Regions from separate parts of the Homo sapiens genome. Here regions 1, 3 and 4 are each linked to region 2. Evidence: promoter capture Hi-C in 16 types of primary human blood cells and fetal thymus (Javierre and others, 2016). All regions are on one chromosome and are shown on one strand. Each heading gives the region's core, a stretch centred on a gene start or on the middle of the fragment in contact. The rest is flanking DNA. Distances are from core to core; before and after follow the strand shown. Region 1 overlaps RAP1GDS1 (Rap1 GTPase-GDP dissociation stimulator 1). Region 2 holds the start of DAPP1 (dual adaptor of phosphotyrosine and 3-phosphoinositides 1). Region 3 overlaps TSPAN5-DT (TSPAN5 divergent transcript). Region 4 has its middle 190 kb from the start of RAP1GDS1.

Region 1 (2,700 bases), core at 145-2,644, 1.5 Mb before region 2:
TGCTAGATGTGGAAAATGCACAGAAAGGAATTTTAGAAAAGAATTTAATTCTCACAATTGTGAAAATGAAAGTGTGCTTGGGAAAAAGCCAATAATGTGGTGGGACTGACACACATGATGTTGTGTGAGAAAGTAATGGGAGATGGCATAATGTGAGTTGTAAAAGTTTCTGATCGGTTTAGGACCAGCTCTGGTAAACAAAAAAAAAAAAAAAAAAAAAGAAAGAAAAGTAGGAAACTGAAAATACAACATAGTAAAACTGAAAATATTATAATTTTTAAACACAGTCCTTTCCACTTGACATGCTAACAGAAACTACTATTCCTACTTCATTAGAGAAGCTTTTAAAAATAGCTTCATTCTGTCAGATACTAAACCCTTTAGATAAGTAAAACATAATATTCAAGAGAGATTGCTATTATTTCCAGCTGCTAAGCCAGGTGCCCCAAATTGACTTAATGCCATTCATTTTGAGATAAACTTGAAATTCTTCCATTCATGCATTGGCTGTATTCTAGGTACTTGAAAACCACATTAGCACAGAAATATTTTTTTTTTTGGATTTGATGTGGATAGTGATGCTTTCAAAGTAAAGCTTTGTTACTAGATAGTTATGTGAAAATAATAGATACAGAAAAAAATTGAGTGACATTTGAAGTGAGGTAAAAATGTCTTGAACTTTTACAAGCTCAGTTAGCAGTTCTTGTGTACTTGTCTCCTGTCGGTTTTATCATCAGCAATGGTATAATTGTCCAAAGATAACAAACACATATCTATCTATATACCCATGTATCTACTTACTGGCATATAGTAAAGTGATAGAATTGATTAACATTTAAAAGTATGAAGTTTTAGATCCAATAACCTTGAAAATAAAGCTACCATTTCTGAATAATATTGTGAGGAAGATAAACTGAAAAATGCCACCACAAATAACATAAAGAATTTCATGACTTCCTAGTTTAACATGACACTGTCTTGAGATTTGTTCTTTGGGACAGTCCTTTCTTCACAGTCAAGTGTATTCTTTGTTGTTGGTGATGATCTTAAGTACTTTTATGGTCAAATTATTTAAATATTAAAACAGCATCACTTTCCTCATTAGTTTTTCTTAGATTGATGTTAAGAAAGGAACTGATAGCTAAAAATTTAGGTCTTATGAAAACTCTTCCATTGCAGCAAGTACTTACAGACCAGTAAATAATTTGTTTCTGGTTTATAGAAGAGAGGTTGGAGCATAAAGAGCCTCTGGTGCCTAAGATAAAAGAAAAAAAAGGCTTGGCAAAGTTTGAAGGTTTTAGTGGGAAAGTATAGCTGTTTGTCTTTAACAGAGACTTTTGAGAAATGCGAGGAATGATAGTTAGCTGTTCACGGTTACCAGAAGTTGCATCAGGTTTTATCCAAATGTATCAAGGCCTAAAATGTGGTAATTCTTTATATTGATAGGGACATAAAGCAAGTGGTCTGTCCAGCTGAATAAAAGAAGGGAGGACAGAAGGAAAGAGCATACCATCCTAATATTCTGAAGGGCATGCATATATTATTCAGGAAGAGAAGAGGCTCTGTGCACAACTGGGGTCACACTAATATTAAAGGGGCAGATAGAGAAGGAAGATCTATTGAAGAAGACCAAAAACAAGTGTTTAGACTGATGTTTCTAAGTTAAGAGGTGTTTCAGAAATGGAAAAACTGTCTATTGCTACAGAGATATCAAACAAGAGGATTGAGAAAAATTCATTGGCTTTGTCAAGATATCATTTAAAACCTTTGACAGAGTAATTTTGATAGGCTTTTAGAGGACTTGGTTAGATCAGGTTTTAAGGAGCGATTGAGTGGGTAAGAAGTGGGAGACTCAGAATTTTAATGACCAAGTCAACTTTGCTTTAACCCTTTGAAGATGTCACATATTTCACAAGACGAACTAGACCATATGTTGATATATAGGAAAGAAATTGTTTTAAGAAAAAATTTTATTTTATTTGTTAATACTTCTCCATTTCTATCTCTACTTACTGCCTCATTACCAGCCAGAGGCTGACAAATTTTCATTAGAACAATTTCAGTGCTTTTAAGGAAATGTAAAATACAGCTCTCTGGAATTACACAAAAAGTAATTTGGATGCTAAGGATTTACTACTGAAATTTACTGTCATGGTTTGAAGGAGTACAAAAATAATATCCTCTGTTTCTTACCCAAGCTTAGAACCACTGGAGATATAAGCATATGAGTCGTCTGCTAGAATTTAAAATATCTGCTTTAAAATTAATAAAGTCTAGAGTTAAGGCCTCTATTTGTAGAGTCACAATGGGATTACTAGTAATTTACTGCTGAATTATACATATTTACTCATTTTGTCACTGTACACCTGGACAGCCACAGGTGTAGAACAGAAAATTCTTGTTGTTTCTAAAATAACAGGAATGCAGAAGGGGTTGAGCCATACATGTCCAGTAGTCCTCAGCCTTAATCAGATAAATCAGATAAATCTTTCCTCTTCTGGAAAATGGAAGCTTTCATATTGTTTCGGCTTAGCAGGGCAACTAACCTTTAAGGAACTGCCAGGTGTCCAGTTTTAGTATATCAGTGAATATCCGCAATTATCTGAAAAGGCTGTTAAAATACTCACGTGTTTTCCAACTACGTATATATTGAGACTAAATTTTCTTCATCTATTCAAACCAAAACAGCATATTAACCAA
Region 2 (2,700 bases), core at 64-2,563:
ACAGTGGTAATAGGGAGGAAGATGAAGGATAGAACCATTGCACAGCAGCCTTTTGCAATCATCTAGTCCTTTAGGAACAGTTCTGCTGTGCTGTTTAGTCCTCAGGCCACACTGTGAGAACAAGTTACAGAGCACTGTGGTGAGTGCTGAATGAGTCAGGGAGTAGAGATAGGAAGAGAGAGAGAGAAAGGGAGAGGGAGAGAGAGACCTGTAGGTACATAGAAAAGGCAGGAAGCAACATATGTCCTTGACTCATTTGATACTGCACTTTGTTCCACTTCCCAAGGATTCAGTCACTGCAATTTACCTTTAGCATTCCAGGCAGATAGAATCCTGCTCTACATATGAATCTGGGCACAAAGCCATGCAGGTGTGAGTAAGCCCATGAAGGAAGTGGCACTCAAAGACTCTAGGAGTTCAGGCCAGGTGCAGTGGCTCATGCCTATAAGCCCAGCACTTTGGGAGGCCGAGGTGAGTGTATCACCTGAGGGTGAAACCCTGTCTCTATAAAAACACAAAAATTAGCAGAGCATGATGACGGGTGCCTGTAATACCAGCTACTTGGGAGGCTGAGGCAGAAGAATCACTTGAACCCTGGGAGGTGGAGGTTGCAGTGATCTCAGGTCATGCCATTACACTCCAGACTGAGTGACAGAGCGAGACTGTCTCAAAAAAAAAAAAAAAAAAAGACTCCAGGAGTTCTAATATGCCCCATTAGGTGGGCACCAGAATGGCCCCTTGTAACTTTTTCCTACCTTCTCCTCTCCTAATTCTTTTTCTGTGGAGGAAACAATAATTGTCTCTGAATCATCCCTATTCGGAGCATTGAGGATATATTAGAAGGTCTGGGTAAACAAGCAGAAATATTGCAAAAGTGCTAAAACATCAAACTTCAGGGTCGAATTTGTGGTTTGCTTCTGCTTTTTCTATCCACTCTAAAGGTGTTCCTGATAGAGAAGCTTCCTCAGTGTTCCCTGTGTTGGTGTGTAAGACAGAAAGAAGATGGGGTAAAAGAGTGCACGCATCCTCCACTACAAACCAGAGGCTGATAGCATTAGGGAGAAGCTAGGGTTTGGCCTCACACAAGCAGTTTGCACTGTTGTCCAATCCCAGGTGGGGTGGTTGCCTCTTCATTTCCTTTGATAGCAACCGCCTGTTGCGTGATGTAGTGTGGGTGTCCTCAGAGGTAGCTACCTAAGTTTGCATACTTCCTGACTGACAGAACACTCCTGCCAGTGCCTCCAGGCCAGGGTGGTGGTGTTGGTGGGAGGAGTAAGTAACCAAGTTTCACTTCCTTGCCTTGGAGACTCAGAGCCATAGCAGGCTGCTGTCTCACAGAGCGAGAAGGTGTCAGGAGCAGCCCAGTTGTGTCTCTCTCTCTACCTCTGTGAAGGGCGCGAATGGGCAGAGCAGAACTTCTAGAAGGGAAGATGAGCACCCAGGATCCCTCAGATCTGTGGAGCAGATCCGATGGAGAGGCTGAGCTGCTCCAGGACTTGGGGTAAGGCAGCAGATCTCCTTTCAAAGTACCTAGTGGGTGGACATTGACTCCGCACTCCCACCTGCATGCTTTGATTAATGACTATCTTCAGTGCCTTGTTGCCCTCTGCCACCTCAACCATTTATTTTTTTCCACTTTATTCATTTGTATCTGTTAAGTATCTTCTTGTCTGGGGCTAATTCCATTGGAAAAGCAGGCATTATTTTTCTAGATGTGAAAACAAGTTGGTTGAGAAAATAGGGAAAAAAATCAAATGTTGGACATTCTTTGAGAAGAGGGACAGAATTGGGATATAGAGGTGATGTTGCCTGGCTTCCTTGATGTTGCTCTGGTTTATGAATAAATGCGCTGTTCAAGAGTTTCTAGCACTGACCCAGGGACAGTAAAAGGACTGTGTTTCTGGTAAGATAAACAGAAAGCTTACCCTACTGTAAGGGAGAGGGACTTTTTCAAAAGACAGAGAATGAGGAAGTTCCTGCAACAGTCTCGCTTGTATATTTCTTTCTCCTGATACTGCATTTGTGAGATTTGATATCGTATGTATGTCCAGAGAGCCAACTTTGAGCCTTTCAGTACCAACAATCCAGGAAGAGGATAAAATTTCTGCTTCAAACAGGTAAGCATAGGTAGGTGGAGTCATTGGAGCTCTGTCTTTAAGAAGGGACCCAGATGACAACTCATCCGGGTATTTAATAAGAAACAAGTATTACACAAGAGAGGAATTGGGGATTTCCCAGAGAAACTGCCTAATGCACTGGGAATATCCCAATGAAGGTGGCTTTGACACCTGTGCATGAGGAGAGGCAAAACCTTTACCTTCTGCCTGGACAAATAGCTCTAACTCTTCATAGCAATCCAATGACATAGGAGCTGTTGTCATCTTCATCTTACAAAGGATGAAAACAAGTACCAAACAGGTTTGAATAACTTGCTTGCTAGTCACACATCAATTACATAGCAAAGCTGGGCATCCAACCTACCACAGGCTATGTCCGAAACCAAAGAAAAACCAAAATAGAGTTGAAATCTCTCTGTGTTAAGGCTGCAGAGATTGTATCTTTTTATGTTGTATTACTGTAAAAGTTTATTAATAATTCCTGTCTTTAGATTATAAAACTGAGGTCTCGGAATTGAACTCTACTTTCATTTGGCAAATCAGATAAAACACCTGGAATTTTCATTAAAGAAAACTCCCCTTA
Region 3 (2,700 bases), core at 30-2,529, 1.2 Mb before region 2:
AACCTGAATGTCTATATTATAAGTAGGGCTCATAGAGCTATAGTAAAATATAGAATCGCAGTGGTTGAGTATAAACAGAAAATAAATCATATAAGAAATAAAATATATGGGGAAATTAATCTAGTAATAAATGAAGTATACATTAAAACTAATAAAGATACAAAAATAATGAGCACTGGTTAGCACATACATTGTTGGTGTCCTTATGAAATAATATGTCCATTTGGAAAGCATTTTGGCTGTATATATCAGGTCAGAGTGCTCCTACATTTTGACTCAGCAGTCCCTCTTCTGGGAATCTACCCAAAGAAATACCCCAGCAGATGGAAAAAGTTATACACTGCAAGATGTATATCATAGCATTATTTATATTGAAGACTTGGCCAGAAATTAAAGATCAAAGAGTAGGGGTGATATCCAATTCCTTGTAGTTACTTGGACCACAATGTTCCTTCACATTCTGTGCCTCTGCACATGTCATTTAGAGTTTCTGCCTGGGGCATTCTCCTTGTCTCTTGTCTGTGAGCTGATTTCTCTTATTCTTCACTACTTTTGTTCAATGTCTCGGAGGCTCCTTCTTTATTCCCTCAACACCCGCTGTGTTCTTCCATCCCGGCACTTAAAGGCTGCCTGTAAGAACTTGTTTACCTACCTGTCTCCTCAATCTGCTGTGACTCCTTCTAGGGTGTGACCTAACCCTTGGTAATCTTAGAATCACCAGAGCTCTGCAGATATGGCAGGTGCTTGATAAATATTTATTAAAGGAATGAATGAGTCATTTGCTCACAGTTTTTACAGCTCTTGAAGATACTGCTTATAGAGTATGTGGCAATATATGGATACATTATAATGTTAAATTTTAAAGGCACTATATATGGAATTATCTCCAAGTAATATTGTTAAATTTTAAAAACAAGGAACAAAAACAGTGTACACAGTAGGCTATCATTTTGTGAAAAGATAAGCTCTGTTGGCAAAAGAATATCCATACACATATTTCCTTGTTAATGGGTAGGCTATCTATGGAAGAAAACGAAATAAACTGGTAACAGCGAGTTAGGGTGGAATGGGGGGCAAACTGGGGGACTAAAGATACTGATAGGAAGGAGACATGTTTTATTTTTAAATAACCCCTTTAGTCTGTTTTTGAAATTTGTACCATGTATATGATACACGTTTTGAAAAATAAAGCAGTCTACAAAACGGTATGCAGTTGTATGAAAAAAAGTTAGGAGTTAATTTTTGCCAAATAAGAACAGTTATAAGGCTGGGTGATTTTGTTTTCATGTTTCTGGTTTGCAATTTTTAAGTGTGGTTAAATTGCTTTTACAATTAAGAAGATAAAATTATACATAAAGATGTAAGAAAGTAACTAAGTAATCATATTTATTTCACGCAACTCCTTCACAACTCAATAAATGCTGATCTATTTTAAGGAGAAAAGGAGAAAAATTTTCTGTCTGAATACTGCTAAGGCCACCTCCCTTATAACTCTGAGGTTGAAAAATGGTTAATAAGTTTAACTACTGACAAGTTAATCAGCTCTTCAAGTGGCAGTGAAAACAGGTAAAGCGTGTTCTTCTAATAGTTGCCTGGCTGAGGAGCAAGATATGACAACAGCGTTTTAACCTAAGACACCAAACTTAACGAGCTTGTCTGTCTCCACCTGTGCTTTATTGTTCCTGCCCACCTTCCTGCCTCCCTCCTCTTGGGCTCTGTCATTGTCTGCCTCTCTGCTCCTCTCTGTTTTTCTTTTGCTTCTCTGTAGCCGCCCTGCTGGTTGCCTCCACACCCCTCCTGCCGCCTTCCTCTCAGAACCCTAGCAGCTGTGTTCAGCGTCCCCCTCTTAAAGCAGCCACATGCTCTGGGAAGACTGGCCCTCTGCGTCACATCTGGCAGTCCCATTCCTCTTGCTAATGTGTGGTTCAGGAATGGGCAGGTGGCCCAATTCTGGTCAACAAGCCATGAGAAGAATCTGCTAGAGGTTTCCTTGCATCTAAGAAATGGTCTCTTTCGCCCTTGGACTTGGTTGGGTTTGGATGTGATGCCTCGATCCTCTACAGCCTGATGACAAAGACCACACCAAGGATGGCAGAGTGGAAGGATAAAAAGAACCAGGGCCTTCCAGCCTTTGTTGTATGGCTGACTTAACCAACCTTGAAGGTGGCCTTACTCACGACTTCCTGTCAGATGAGACAAATTTCTTGGTTAAGATACTTTGACAGGGGTTTTCCGTTTCATACAACTGAAAGTATCCTGACTTAAACACCTTTTGAGGTTCTGCCCCAAGCCTTTATTGATTTTCTCCTCTTGAATCACCACCAGCATTTCTGCATTTCTCTTAGTACCACGTTTTTTCTATTCCCCACACCCACCACCCCCTCTCTTCCCTAGCTGTTTCTGTCTCAAACAATACAGGGAAACATTTTAGGGTGTCTGACAGATCACACCCACCCCTTTCTCAGACCTTCTCAACCACAAGGTGCTCTCCCACCTCCAGCGAGGTTTGTACTTCACAGTTGATGGGGTCCCGGTAGATTCAGGCTGGGCCAACCTGAGAGTCTGTCTCAGTAACAAAGGGAACCCTGCGCCCAGCTGAAGTGCAGGCAATGTTTACCCGAAAGCTGGGGGTGGGTCCGCATTTCCAGGAGGAAGCCAAGACTCTCCCTCATCCTCTGCAGAAAGAGGAAGGAAGCCTAA
Region 4 (2,700 bases), core at 35-2,534, 1.4 Mb before region 2:
ATGACAATTCATTTTTATATATTGGAACCAAATTATCAAACAAAACAAGCCAGGTAGGTACTGCTGCCTGCGGTTCTTCTGACCTTTGCTCTCTTGGTCTGGTGGTCTTCTCTGGTCCACTAGCAGGAGGACCAGAGAAGGTCAGCACCTCTGACCTTGACCTCCCTTCAGGGAGGTTCTGCTCAGCATCTTGGTGCTTAGTTCCTTGATGTCTAGCATAGGCATGTCAGACAGATACCTAAAACACTTAGAACTTAGGAAGGAAGGGATGATTGAATCCAATTCTAAGATGATGTGAGGAAATATTAACCAGAGGAGCTTTGACTTCAGACCCATCTTTGGAGGAACCCAAAATAGTTCCTAATTTCGGCTAAAGCCAACTATCGGTAGGTAGACAGTTCCGTTGCCCCACCCTCCCTTTTCTCAAGTTTCCAGAATGCAACCCACTCTCTACCATGCTTCTCCTACCATGACTTCCTTTTTTGTGTAGGTAAGAAAAGTAGAAGAGGTGTTAATGAATCATATTCTGCTCTTTTCACCCACACAGCCTCATCCCCTAGTACCCAGCAGAAGTTAGAGGAAGTAACACAGCAGAGTGTCCATGTAGATTCATCATATCCCAAAGTAATAACTATTAATTCCTTTGCTTCCCACTCGCCTATTTCTTGTCCTCTTGTTACCCTATCGTGATTGTGAAACACAGTGACTTCCCCTAAGCCACAACAAGTGAGAACAAGATGTTCACTGACCTGAGAAAACCATCTGACAAAAATTCATTTCCTGTTAATGAGAGAACGGCCTCGCATTTGTGTTATAATATGATCTGACAGTTAGTTCATAGAAAGCATGCTTTGTTATACCTGTGCCTAATGTCTGATGCAAAGTTTCAGAATGACCTTCTGGCATGCTTGCCCACAGCAGTTGCCCAGGGTGTATTTACATGGTTGAAGCATTGTGCCATGTGTAGCTATATCCTTTTTTCCCCCCACTTAAGAATTTCTCATGTTACTAACAACTCAAGTTTTTATAAACCTCTTTTTTAATGGCTGCCTATTTTTTGTTCTTTGTTGTGTTCTTTGTGGTTTTGAGATGAGGTCTTGCACAGGCTGGAGTGCAGTGGCGCAATCTTGACTCACCACAGCCGCAACCTGCTGGGCTCAACTGATACACCTCAGCTTCCCTAGTAGCTGGGACCACAGGCATCACTACTATGCCCGGCTATTTTTTTTTTTAAATGTTGCAGAGATGAAGTCTTGCTTTGTTGCCCAGGCTAGCCTTGAATTTCCAGACTCAAGCGATCCTCCCAAAGTGCTGGAATTATAGGCATGAGCCACCATACCCCCATGTTCTTTAATTATATGGCTGTACCAGAATCTTAACCTTTTCCTGCATCTAGACATTCAAGATATATTCTGACTTTTAAAAAACAAACCCCAAATGCTAGGTTGTGTGTGTTTTCAGATGCTAGGGTAGTTCCTCAATTAAAAACTATCTGACTTGCCAGTCCCTCTATTTTCTGCCCCTAATTCTTAAATCAAAGCCCCAATCCTTTCTTCCTCAGAGATCCTGATCAAATTTCTCAGTGAGGCAGAGCTGCCCTGCCCAGCCTCTGTGCAACCCTTCCTGATACACCCTTACTTTTCATCACCTCTTGAACACTCTGCTCCAACCAAGCCCTCCCCACTCTCCCGAGGGAACCCACAACAGCACCTCCTCCTGGGCATCCAAGCGTTACATCACTTACACCCACGCAACATCTACCACCGCCCCATTACCAAATGTATCAGAGTGCGTTCAGAGTGTATCAGAAGAGGTATAGAGCATACCTACAAGTACCTATGGAACTGATGTTTAGCTGATTGGAGTCTAATCACCTCTTAGCACTGCCATCAACTGCTAGCAACATATTTGCGCCTCTAAACAAACCTGTGAACCACCACTCTGATTTCTTCCAAGCTGATCAACACTCTCCAGGCACCACTCACATGGAGAGGGGAGGGAAGGAGTGGAGGGCCTCTTCTTCCACAAGAGTCATCATTAAACACTCTTCATGCTCTTCATGATTCTATCACCTGGCCAATCTGTTTCTTCCTCTATAGACTAGGGATGGCAAACAAACTAGGGGCCCTCACACATGTTGTTTGGGCCACATGGTTGTTGTTTTTTGTTTTGTTTTGTTTTGAGATGGAGTCTTGTTCTGTCACCCAGGCTGGAGTGCAGTGGTGCCATCTCAGCTTGCTGCAAGCTCTGCTTCCCGGGTTCACGCCATTCTCCTGCCTCAGCCTCCTGAGTAGCTGGGACTACAGGTGCCCGCCACCACGCCCAGCTAATTTTTTGTATTTTTAGTAGAGACATGGTTTCACCGTGTTAGCCAGGATGGTCTCAATCTCCTGACCTTGTGATCCGCCCGCCTCAGCCTCCCAAAGTGCTGGGATTACAGGCGTGAGTCACCGCGTCCGGCCTGGTATTTTTTAAAAAAAAAAAAAAGGAAGAAGAAAAGGAGAAAAAATGAATAGCTTTAAACATTTAAAATGTAAGTGATTTTGCATAAAAATCCATTTCTCTGGCTTTTCTTTTAAAATGAGGAGATCTGGAAACCAGGGACTCTACATTTCAGGAGAAGAGCATGTGGGTGGGGCCCCCTTTGGACAGGATATGTCTCTCTACTGGATTAGATCCCCACCTGGCCATTCACCTAAA

The links. The method cuts DNA at HindIII sites, captures the fragments that hold promoters and counts their contacts. A CHiCAGO score of 5 or more calls a contact.
Region 1: a contact is called between a fragment that was not itself captured here and the fragment with the promoter of DAPP1 in region 2, in 1 of 17 cell types (total B cells). The highest score is 5.5, in total B cells.
Region 3: a contact is called between a fragment that was not itself captured here and the fragment with the promoter of DAPP1 in region 2, in 1 of 17 cell types (naive B cells). The highest score is 5.8, in naive B cells.
Region 4: a fragment that was not itself captured here is called in contact with the fragment with the promoter of DAPP1 in region 2 in 1 of 17 cell types (naive B cells); the score reaches 7.7 in naive B cells.

What each region holds. Positions count from the first base shown.
Region 1 is chr4:98,289,356-98,292,055 of GRCh38, forward strand. The region is part of intron 1 of RAP1GDS1 (Rap1 GTPase-GDP dissociation stimulator 1); the gene reads left to right. Among named protein-coding and RNA genes, the nearest start is that of RAP1GDS1, 29 kb to the left of the region's middle. The HindIII fragment of the contact is 1,603 bases long and covers 594-2,196 here.
Region 2 is chr4:99,815,514-99,818,213 of GRCh38, forward strand. DAPP1 (dual adaptor of phosphotyrosine and 3-phosphoinositides 1) reads left to right here and starts at 1,314. Exons shown (of 9, transcript NM_014395.3): 1 at 1,314-1,501. The coding sequence starts at 1,401. The HindIII fragment of the contact is 961 bases long and covers 958-1,918 here.
Region 3 is chr4:98,661,222-98,663,921 of GRCh38, forward strand. TSPAN5-DT (TSPAN5 divergent transcript) reads left to right here. Exons shown (of 3, transcript NR_148380.1): 3 at 1,769-2,700. The region is part of intron 1 of LOC112267901 (a long non-coding RNA gene); the gene reads left to right. Among named protein-coding and RNA genes, the nearest start is that of TSPAN5-DT, 3.7 kb to the left of the region's middle. The HindIII fragment of the contact is 4,440 bases long and covers 1-2,700 here.
Region 4 is chr4:98,446,140-98,448,839 of GRCh38, forward strand. No RefSeq gene overlaps it. Among named protein-coding and RNA genes, the nearest start is that of RAP1GDS1, 190 kb to the left of the region's middle. The HindIII fragment of the contact is 5,004 bases long and covers 1-2,700 here.